Regions from separate parts of the Homo sapiens genome. Here region 2 is linked to region 1. Evidence: promoter capture Hi-C in 16 types of primary human blood cells and fetal thymus (Javierre and others, 2016). All regions are on one chromosome and are shown on one strand. Each heading gives the region's core, a stretch centred on a gene start or on the middle of the fragment in contact. The rest is flanking DNA. Distances are from core to core; before and after follow the strand shown. Region 1 holds the start of IKZF1 (IKAROS family zinc finger 1). Region 2 overlaps GRB10 (growth factor receptor bound protein 10).

Region 1 (6,061 bases), core at 76-2,575:
AAGAGCCGTCGAGCGGGCTGCGGGATTGCTTCGCTGTCACCTCCGCCTGCAGCCACCCTTCCGCACGCACTTGTGTGTGCACCCAGGCCAACATGGAAGGCGCCATCCTAACTTCTGCCGTGAGCAGGTGGGAGGGAAGAGAGACGAGAGGTATTCCATTGGTTGTCTGGGAAAATGAATTGCACCTTCCCCTCCCTTGCGGAGGATCAACTTTTCCCACCCCCTCGGGTGGGCACTCGCATCCTGGGGCCGGAGCCTGAACCCGGGAGCCAAGGGGCCCCAGTTCCAGGGACGTGAAGCTGAGCGTACAGCGGGCGCTCCCAGACACTGGGGAAAGTGCTTTACGATGTCCCGAGTCCCTCCAGTCTCGCCAGCGGGGCGAGCGTGAGGGTGCCCCGACCGACCAGCGGCCCCGGGTGCAGGGTGGCGGGCCCGGCGGCGCGCGTCCCCCTCCCCCTCCTGGCGGCCCGCACGTGTCGCCCGCGCCGCGCCCCCACGGGTTACGCGCGGGTCCCGCAGCGCCGCGGCCGAGCCGGGCTGCCCGGCCCGCGGACACAGCGCCGGCCGCCGCATCCCGTGCGGGGCCGCGGCGCGATGCTGCGCTGGAATGAGGAAGCGCGGCGGCGAGGGGAGGGCCCGGGCGCGGTGCGCGCGGGGGTGGCGGCGGCGCGCCGAGCGGGCCCGGCGCGGGCGAGCGGGCTGCAGCCGGCGGCGGCGCCAGCAGGTACGGCCCGCACCCGCCGCCGCCCCGGCGGCCTTTGGGGGCTGAGCCGGAGCCCGGCGCGATTGCAAAGTTTTCGTGCGCGGCCCCTCTGGCCCGGAGTTGCGGCTGAGACGCGCGCCGCGCGAGCCGGGGGACTCGGCGACGGGGCGGGGACGGGACGACGCACCCTCTCCGTGTCCCGCTCTGCGCCCTTCTGCGCGCCCCGCTCCCTGTACCGGAGCAGCGATCCGGGAGGCGGCCGAGAGGTGCGCGCGGGGCCGAGCCGGCTGCGGGGCAGGTCGAGCAGGGACCGCCAGCGTGCGTCACCCCAAAGTTTGCGGGGTGGCAGGGCGCGCGCTCTGGCCACCCGCCGCTCTGGGCGGCAGCTGGTGGCAACGCAAGGGCGCGGCGGGGGCGGCCGGCGCGGAGGGGGCCAGGTACGGGGCCCGCGGGCGGCGCTGTGCGCGCGGGGCAGCCGGTCGGCCGGGAGCGCGAAAGCCTGGTCTGAGCCGGCTGGGGGCGGGGAGTGTGGCGGAGAAATGGGGAACAATGCGAGTGAGCAACTTCAGGAAGTCATTGTGAAAGAAAGCTGGGAAGAGCTCCGCGGCCAAGTTAGCAGGACACTCTAACAAGTGACTGCGCGGCCCGCGCCCGGGGCGGTGACTGCGGCAAGCCCCCTGGGTCCCCGCGCGGCGCATCCCAGCCTGGGCGGGACGCTCGGCCGCGGCGAGGCGGGCAAGCCTGGCAGGGCAGAGGGAGCCCCGGCTCCGAGGTTGCTCTTCGCACCCGAGGATCAGTCTTGGCCCCAAAGCGCGACGCACAAATCCACGTGAGTGTTTTCAAATTGAATTTCAATAGGAAAACTTGGGGTAACTGGTGAATTTAAAAAAAAAAAAACACAGTAAAGAAAAGCGGTAAGGTTGGTAGACCCTGGTGTCGCTCAGGTCCGCCTCTCTTTTCTGAGGACAGTGAGAGAGTTCACTTCTGTCAAGCGTCTGTTGCTCTGCACTGTGCCAGCAGGTGCAGGACCAGGCCGACATGGGACACTTCTGAGCAGCCCCGCTGTCACCAGGAGAGGAGTTCTAGCTCCCAACCATATTTAAATTTATGTAGACCTACATATACCCACGGAAGTCAGCCTTTATAAAGTCGTGTGTAAAGAGTTTTCCTTATATTTGAGCCGGGAGCTTTCTTTTTATACTATAAATATGATGAGATCGAGTCTGAACTTAATTTCTGCAAGAGAGGAATTATCCCGGCTTTGAAAAGTTAGTCCTTTTGCTGACCGCAGGTTTGACGCTCAAGTCACCAAACCTTCTCAGGAAAACCCTTAGTAATATTAAGGCATCAGGTTACTTGCGGTTATATTTGAAATGTATTTTAAATATTTGTCAAGCATCGCTGCTGATGCCTAAGGAACCTCGTGAGGGCTTGTTTTTCCTTCTAATTTGGAGGCATCTAATGACCGAAAACCGTAGCGATTCCATAGGGTCTGACCAGGCACAGCTTTCAAATGCAGCTTCCCTCTCTCTAGGGACTGCAGCCCACCCAGACTGAATTTCAATGCGGTGCGCTTTGCTTAGGTTACCCACTCACAATTTCCCACTGCGCCGCAGGCAGTATATTTCAGCTTTGAGATACCTTGTTTTAAAATTCCAGACAAAATGGTGTTGAGGAAATGTCTCCTTACTAGTCCCATCAACTTCTGTTAAAAGAGGAAAATTTATGGAATTTGAAAATACTGCGTATGATATTTAAACTTTCATAGACATTCAAATGCTTTTAAGGCCAGGTTCAATTTGGTTATGAGTCGAGGGGTGGGGGGGACCCACATAGAAATGTCCTGGGTCCTCTTGAGTTTATTTCTTTGTTTGAAGATGTTTGTTCAATGAGTTTTATTGTACTCATCTTTTATATGGAATTTTAAAAAGTAACAATTTCAGTATTATTTATATTAGAATGTGTCAGAATTATTTCCGTGACAAATCAGATCATTTGGGCTATGGCTTAAAATGTACACGAGGCAAATATTCATGACAAGAAGATTCACCTTCTTACGCTGGCATCTTGTAAAATGCAGAACAAGTTAAAGAAATAATGTGTACACATACAAATAATGATGTCACATTAAAAATACTACACTATTCTTGCTTGATGGAATGTATCTGATTTCCAATTTCACCATGAACATATTTCATACATTTTTTACATGAAAAAAAACGTGACTCTTAAGTCTCACAGTCAATCAGAGCTGGTGACCAGAACATTTTATTGAACTAAATGGTCATGTTTTCTTCCCCTTTTGTTTCACGGTGAGAGTTGAAGGAAGGAGTTTAGAAACTCTCCAGTACTTGTTTAATTCATCAGTGTTCTAATTAGAGTGGTACCTCTTGGAAAACTACACACCCCCCTAATGCAGAAACATCATAGCAATAATCACCCACCCTCAGGGTCTCCAGGAGACCACAAGGGCTGCAGATAAAAGTCTGGATGTGTTAGGTTTGACCCTTTCGAAGAGTTTTACACAGGCTCCTAAAGAGAAGATCAGCTGTGGCCGTTTGTAGCCATTTCCTTTGTCGAAAAACTAAGATCGCAGTGAATGTATTAGCCAAGAGGTCTAAAGCCCTGTTGTACTGCAGGCCACTGTCTTCCTTGTTTGACTAGAGACTTGGAGTTTGAGAACAGTGGTTCTTTGGTTTGGATACATTTTTTGTTCTTGATTTGGATGTGTGTGTTTCATGCGTGGTTAATATAGCATATTTTCAATATAAATGTCAAAAATTTTGAAATAGGAAAGAACTCTCTATATATTAATGTACTTATACACACACTTCAAGATTATGCATTTATTAACAGATACATGAAATAAATTCCATGTGCATATGCACATATGCACACAGAGCGTGCACACACACAGCATGCACACAGCGTGGAGTGAGAGGCATGGGGCAGTGTGGAAGAGTTTTAACATCAAACAGACCTGAAATGAGTATTAAAGGCCCCCTTTATTTTTAAACTTTTACTAAAACAAGATGGATTTCCCTATGTTATATAATGGTGAATTTTAGGCATAAATAACGTTTTTTGAGTGTTGCATAATTGTACGTATTAATGTAATGTAACTGTGGTTAACGAAGAATTCATCAAGGATATCACTGTTTTGTGGCATTTTTTTTTTCCTCCTCTAATCTTTGGACTTGTGAAATAATTTCACTATGAAATAAATGTTGGTTCTTGTCATATTCTAAGGGAGATTGATGTAAGTGGCTCCACTCCAGCTTACAGAAGGTAAACCACGACCTTTTTGCGTTCTCTGAAAACGCTTGTCTTCCGATGCCTCTGTTTCTAAGACTGACAAGCACTCTGGGGGCACTGTGACGCCTGCTTCTAGCGGCAGAGTTGCTGCAGCTCCTGTCCTGGCTGTGAACATTGTTCTCTCTCTGGTGTCTCTATGTTCATAACTACAGAGACTTCAGCTCTATTCCATTTCATATTTGTGCTGAATAATCATTCCATTTTATGGGAGAAAACACAAGATGTAAAAGCAACAAGTGACCCATCCTTTGAAGCTTACAAGAAGAGAAACATTAATCTATTTCACGTCTTGAAAACAGATCAGTTTTATTTTGCTCAAAAAGGGCACATGTACATTTTTGATCTAGGTCTTAGAAACGTAGAGTTTCAGAGGATCAGCATTATACACACTGTCACACACACACACACTTAAAATTCAGATGAGGAACAAGATAGGAATGAGGTTTTGTTAGGGACGCAGAGCACCTAAAACCAAAGGATATCGACAGTAACAAAGCTGTTTTTACTGTAGTGCTGACTGAACACTCATGCTGGTGTCTTCATGTGGACCATGGCTTTCTTGTATTTCTTTGCAGTTTAATAAATGACTTCATATCTCAGGTTACCTTTCCACATCTCCTGGAATATATGTTTATGTCCTTAAAGTTTCAGTGTCGTCACTTTAGTAGCTTTAGTTTGAGTTTTTAAATGTTTGGTAATATTCCAACAAATATTTTTTAAGACATTATGAAACCTTATGAAGTGCCATATATTACAAGTGAGATAAAACAGCAAGCAAAAGAAGGTTTGCAGAAGGTTTTTAAGTGGCGAAGTGCGGGCCTGCCCATTTTGGTGTCTCCTTGGTGGTTACTCCTGAGAAGGGCCTGGAGGAAGAGCAACTGAGGCCTAATCTACAGGCAACTGCCAAATTGTTTCAGTTGACGTTTTTCCCTCTCATGTTTGACTATAATAAATAGGTAGTTGCCAGTGGAGCCTTCAGCCAACCACCTGGTAATAAACTGTTAAAAATGGTGCAAACCCTAGGTCACAGGTGTGGGGGCCATTTGTCTTGCCTGTTAACAGGCCTGGCCTTAATTCTTTTCTCCCATGGCCATTTCTGCCTTTGGGGAACTCACAATTCCTGTTGACTAAAAGAGCACCCTTTTCCACCACAAGCCTGACAAATCAGACGTCCACATAATTTCTGAACTCGTTTTGGTTAGGACAGGAAGCACAGGCTCCCTTCCTGTCTGTGTTTTCCTAAGAGAAAACGGTCTTCCCTCCTTTTTTGCATATTTGGCAAGTGGTTCCACCTTTCTCTGCACCCTGGTGGAGTGTGAAGGCAGCAGAGGAACCTTTTGGAGGAGGAAGAGGACACAGAGGCCCTGTAGCCAGGCACCAAGATCCCTCCCAGGTGGCTGGGTCTGAGGGGAACTCCGAGCAGCCCTAGGTCCTCAAAGTCTGGATTTGTGTGGAAAAGGCAGCTCTCACTTGGCCTTGGCGAGGCCTCGGTTGGTTGGTGAGTGCCACACGGTTTCTTTGTGTGCTTGCATGGATTGGAATAGCCATTGTGTTCTTCCGTCTTCCCTGCTGGTGTTTCCACAGTGGGTGGCCTGAGCCCAGAGCAGCTCCCCATATCCCTGTGCAGGCCACCTGTCTCGGGTGATGGAGAGCATCATTATGCTCCGTCTGAACGCTCTGCTTTCGGATGGCCCCATGCTCCACCTCCTGATAGCTCGTGGCGCGGGGCCACGGCTTAACAAATGGCTGAAAATGGGTCCTAATTAGTGGAAAAGTGCTTTCTTCATATTTTCTCACTCGAGTGTGCAGTGATTCATTTTTCTTCTGCAATCAGCTCACTGCTAAAGTAAATCTGACTCTCTTCCCGCCATTGCACACCAAAAGTTAACTCTAATGGGTAGGAGGTTAGGTTTGTTGAGAGAGCAATGCAGTAAAAAGAGGGGATCCAATGTGGTCTTGTCTGTCTGGTCTTCCTTTCTTCGTTTTTTCCTCCCTTGTCTTCTCTGTCATTCCCTTCCCTCCATTTGCCTTGCCTTTCCTGTC
Region 2 (5,546 bases), core at 2,890-5,389, 360 kb after region 1:
CTCTGGCTTAAATATTAACAAGCCAAAACATTGCTGTTTTAAAATTCATCATCAACAACAAAATAAAACAGAAAGCCCAAGAAGTCTAGAAAGACAACTCCAAAACATCTCACACTATTTATGAGCACCCAAACACCAGTGAGGGCCCATGAGCCAGTGGCAGAGGTGCGTGGAAGTGCCTGGGTTTACTGGCTCCAGATTTCCATGCTTCCACCAAGGGTCTGACCGGCCCAGGTTTGGAACCCATAACACGTTGGACAAACTGCTCTCAGGGCTCCCCCTGGCCAAATGCTGAGCAGCTGCAGGGCGGGTGCCACCCCACGTGGGGGTAGCAACGAGCCTGGGTGGGACCAGGGAGGTGAGACCGACCCTGCACTGCTTCTGTAGAAGCACCTGGGCAGGACCCCAGACCCAGAAGAGGAAGCAGAGCCTGGGCAGGGTGAGGAAGTTGAATCCAGGGCAGGTGAAGGACAGCCAGGCAGGAAGGAATGAGTGGGCTGTCAGACGGTGACATCCCAGCACGTGGATCTCCGATCAGAAGTAGCCCCCTTTGCGCCGGTGTACGTCTCCCCCACAGCTGGAGGATCACAGGTTTGAAACTCAGCTATTCCCGCCAACCCAGATGACTCAGGCAAGCCCCATGGGTACCCTTAGCAAACTCAGCACAGCACTCAGGAAGAACCTGGCCAATGCAGGGTCACGAAGCCAGGGTGCAGTCATCGTGGAAGAACTTGGTAAGCCTGCCTGGGGCTGCTGCATGCTCTGGGATCCCCAGGGAGAGGACGCAAGGCAGCTGGGGAAGACCTCCCTGTCCTTCTAGATAGAATAATGGCTGCTCTCTTTTGGCACATGCCTGCCACGTCTTAGACTACCAACTACTCCATCCTGCTTCCTCTCAGATAGCTCTTCACTCTGTCACCATCGTGCTAAGCTCACGAGAGCAGGGCCCACTTTGCGGTCAACCTCTTGGTCTCAGGGTCTGGCAAAACACCCGGCCCGTTGTAGGGGCTCAAGGTGAGCGAAGGCAGAGAGCTCAGAGGGAGGCGGCATTGGAGGAATCGCGTGCTGTTGAATAGGAGGCTGAGGGCTCTTCTCTACCCATGACTACTCCCATGCAGAATTTTCCCTCCCCTCCTTCCTTTCATCAAGTCCCATTGGCCCGTAGCCTTTACAGGGCACTGAGCTTGTATCTTACATGTCTAGAAAGGAGACACACCAGAGCTGCAGGTGGAACTCAGATCCGTGAGGGCCCACAAATGCTGCAGTGAGACCACTGCCACTCTCCCACCCTGTCCCAGCACGCGGGCCAGGGGGCTCAGCATGCTGTGAGGAGCGCCAGGTCCACATCATGGTAGTTGCTTGCTCTCAGACCTGGGGTCTCTGGACACCAGCATCTGATCTCTTATCACATTACGGAGCTACCAAGGAGTCACTTAAAAAGGAGAGAGGCAGGGCCAGGCGCAGTGGCTCACATCTGTAATCCCAGCACTTTGGGAGGCCGAGGTGGGCGGATCACAAGGACAGGAGATCGAGACCATCCTGGCTAACACGGTGAAACCCCGTCTCTACTAAAAATACAAAAAATTAGCCGGGCGTGGTGGCGGGCGCCTGTAGTCCCAGCTACTCAGGAGGCTGAGGCAGGAGACTGGCGTGAACCCAGGAGGCAGAGCTTGCAGTGAGCCGAGATTGCGCCACTGCACTCCAGCAGCCTGGGCGACAGAGCGAGACTCTGTCTCAAAAAAAAAAAAAAAAAAAGGAGAGAGGCAGAAGAAAGGTACTAATGCCTGTGTGGGAATTTCAGAAGGCTTTGCCTACAAAGCTTGGGCAAGAATGATTTTTCCTTTCTCATGGAAGTTTAAATATCTCTACTTTTTCCTCCCGTTGCCTTCTTCATGAATCTGCTATTTAATAGTGAACATAATGACATGAATGAGGAAGTTTCCAATCACCTCACTATCCCATTACCTTCCATAGATTTCGTTATGCTTTCTTCTTTTCCTACGTTAACTGAGTTCTTCCCTGTGAGCAAAGCCACTTTATGTATCGGGTCCACTTTGTCAATTTTTCTACTACTTCAGAATCCTTGACTAGACCTTGGTCTCAGCATTACTTCCTCTGACTTGAATGAAGGGAAGAAGAACATCAGATTTCTCTTTTCCTCAAGCAAGGGGCAAGGAATGGAGCCAAAGCTCTTTGCCCAGCACCATCCCCCACCGTGATCCTAGATCCAAAGCCCTGGGAAGTGGCTGGAGGTTGTCCAGCACTTGCTACCGACTGCACTGAGAAAACACACTTTTCATGAGATCAGAAGTCAACACCAAGTACAGATAAAGAAATATCCCTTCAAGCAAGTCGGGAAAAAAAAAAAAAGAACAAAGAACAAGGACTTTCTACAAGTAGTTCTAGTTCTGAGTGAGAAACATCCTTCCTGGTCGTTTCTGTGGGCTTGAGGACACGAGTGACACAGACACCAATGCCACGTTCTCATGGGGAACAAGCTCTGATCCCAAGAAAAACACCAGCAGGCAAAATTCCCCGGTTTCCTTGTTCTGCTTACAAATTTGGACAATCCCTGGGGGTGGAGGCCAATTTTCTTGCCAAAGGCTGAGAGAGCCAGATAATATTTTCATGGTCTTATTTTAGAATGGGTAGCTCTGTAAACAACCTCAGTGACAAAACCCACAGACAGCTTGTCTGGATCCTTATTTGAAGCAGAAGGTCACCAGCGAGGTAGACATCCCAGATGCACTTTAGACATGTGACAAAGTGCACAAGCCCAGCCAGTGCTGGCTCCCAGATGAGGGACACTTACCTCACCTTCTAAGTTTTGATAGTGCCATAATGCAGCCTGCTCCGGGGGCCTGAGGTCAGAACGGGACCCACACTTGGGAGCCAGCGGGTATTGGAAAAAGGTCTCTCTCTCAAGAGGACAGACCTTGCATGGCACAGGACAGGCAGATTTGCAGAGAAAGGGATGGCTGGCCTGTCTTGCTTGAGAACAGCAAAGGTAGGGAAGTGAGAGCAAGTAGGGAGAAGAGATGATTCAAGTAGAAGGGCAAAATGACTTCTAAATATGCATTTAGCAGAAGGAAAGTCAAAGTCCCGGGAAGCCAATCAGCACAGTGGCTGCAATCACAGGCTCCGATTCTGAGGCCGGGTCACACTCAGCCGCACCATCAGGTCTCAGCCACACTCAGCTCAGCTGCTTACAGGGGCCTCCCTTCCCTCAACTGTGGAACAGAGGGAACATGCGTACTTAATTCATACGGGATGGCATGAGGAGTAAATGAACATATAAATAAACAAAAAATAAACATATCCACCACTTACGACAAGGCCTGGCACACAGAAATCCCTCACTCCATAAACATCAGATGGCGCAGTTGTTCTAATGATCACCTCCACCCCTAGGGGTCTTCCTCCAGAGGCTGCAGCCCATCCTGGCTCACAGCCCTGCCAACCGGTGGGGAGGAACTTTCAACCCCTTTCTCTGCCAGTTTCTCTGCTAAGCTGACTTGTTGGCTGTTTGACCTTGGACACATTACTGAAATGCTCTGTGCCTCAGTTTCCTCATATGGGGACAATGGTTGTGTCCTATCTACTTCATGGATCTACTTTAAGTAGAAACTACAAGTTCAAAAAGGAGGTTATTGCCCTGCGGGTCCAATGGAAACTCTTCTGCTTTCGGCAGATCATATTCAAAGTCAGGACTACAAGACAGAAACTCTTCAACTCCTGTGTACTGACATCCAGGTGCCCGGGTGAGCCCAGCATTTTCACACCTATTATTGAGCCAGTGGTGAAACTTTTTCAAAGAACTAAGATTCATCTTTAAACATCAAATCATTGTTATTATTTGCCATTTTTTATGAGACTTTTTCTAAAATATAAAGATAAAACAGAGTTTTGATCAATAATGAAAAGAGGTTTAATTGGTTCATGGTTCTGCAGCCTGTACAAGAATCATGGTGCGGGCATGTGCTCGGCTTCTGATGAGGACTTAGGAGCTTACAATCATGCCAGAAGGCAAAGCAGGAACTGGCGTCTCGCACAGCAGGAGTGGGAGCAAGGGGAGGAGATGACACGCACTTTTAAACAACCAGATCTCGTGAGAACTTACTATTGTGAGGACAGCACCAAGCCATGAGGAATCTACCCCTAAGATCCAATCACCTCCCACCAGGCCCTGCCTCCAAAATTGGGGATTACAATTCCACATGGGATTTGGAGGGGACAACATCCAAACTGTATCGGCCTCATAGGACAACAAGTACTGTGACAACAAGAAAAGAACTGAGAGAGAAGATCCCAGGACTTCCCGCCCTTCTTCCCAAAGTAATAATCTGGCACATCTGTGCAGATCCCAATAATCTGGCATATCCCTCAGCCTGGGCTCCAGCCAGGGGCACACTCACCTGCTTTGCGGCGGCCTGGCTCGGAGGTAAAGAACCCGGCGTGAGCACAGGGGGGCTCCCAGGGCCACAGAGTTCAGGAAAAGGATTGGGGATGGCCGGCAGAGATGAGGTTCTAAACTGCTGGTCTTCCTCCTGAAGGCGCCTGGAAGGCAGGGATAAGTGCCTGTTAAAAGCTGCCATTCCCCACATGACCCAGCCTTACCACTGTGGTGATACACCCAGAAAGCAGGACACAGGGCTTCTAGGAGTCACTGGCATGCCCACGTTCACAGTGGCATCCTTCACAAAAGCCAAAAAGTAGAGGCATCCCAAGGGTCTGCAGATGGATGAATGGATGAACAATATGTGGCATATCCATACCATGGAACACTACTCAGCCATGAAAAAGGAAGCACATTCTGACACAGGCTACGACACGGATGAACCCTGAAGACATTATGCAGAGTCAAACACACCAGTCACAAAACCAGAGACACTGTGTGATTTCACCCAGTGAGGTAGGTAGTGTATTCAAACCCATAGAAAATAGAAGGGTGGCTGCCAGGGGACTAAGGGGAGGGCAATGGGGAATCGCTGTTTATTGGGGACAGAGTTTCAGTTTCATAAGATGAGAAAGTTCTGGAGATTGTACAACCATTGTGAGTGTGCATTAATACTACCGAACTGTACCCTGAAAAAAACAGTTAATATGGTAAATTTTATGTTACATGTATTTTACTAAAACGAAAACTTTAAAAAAATTACAAGTTGTCATTCTCAGACCCAAAGGGTATTGGGTATCAATTCTCTTCTTCATTAGGCATCGGGGGCGGGGGGCGGGGTGCCGAAGTTTTGTTGTCCTGGGTGCGTGCTCATCTCAGGCAGCATTCAGTGCCTGACATGGCATCAGCTCCAAATACCTCATCCGTTTGATCAGTGAATACCTGATGTGTGAAAGTTTTCTGAATATGAGCATTTTCATGAGAACCAAGTGTTTTTCAATGTCCTTGAAATGAGCATTAATCTAATCAAATGAAAATACAAGAAAAGGCTGTGTGTTCTCATCTGAATTATGCAATGGATGGTTACTTATATAAAAAGGTTGTTGACACTGAATTAACTGGAAATTATAGCTTCATGTATCTGTCCTCG

The links. Contacts are between HindIII fragments. The CHiCAGO score rates a contact against its expected background, and 5 or more counts as called.
Region 2: a contact is called between a fragment that was not itself captured here and the fragment with the promoter of IKZF1 in region 1, in 1 of 17 cell types (neutrophils). The highest score is 5.0, in neutrophils.

The regions. Positions count from the first base shown.
Region 1 is chr7:50,303,391-50,309,451 of GRCh38, forward strand. IKZF1 (IKAROS family zinc finger 1) reads left to right here and starts at 1,326. Exons shown (of 8, transcript NM_006060.6): 1 at 1,326-1,532. RefSeq lists silencers at 639-1,438, 5,870-5,969. The HindIII fragment of the contact is 6,071 bases long and covers 1-4,270 here.
Region 2 is chr7:50,665,307-50,670,852 of GRCh38, forward strand. GRB10 (growth factor receptor bound protein 10) reads right to left here. Exons shown (of 19, transcript NM_001350814.2): 7 at 4,416-4,557. Among named protein-coding and RNA genes, the nearest start is that of DDC, 100 kb to the left of the region's middle. RefSeq lists enhancers at 3,934-4,435, 4,436-4,935. The HindIII fragment of the contact is 4,644 bases long and covers 1,818-5,546 here.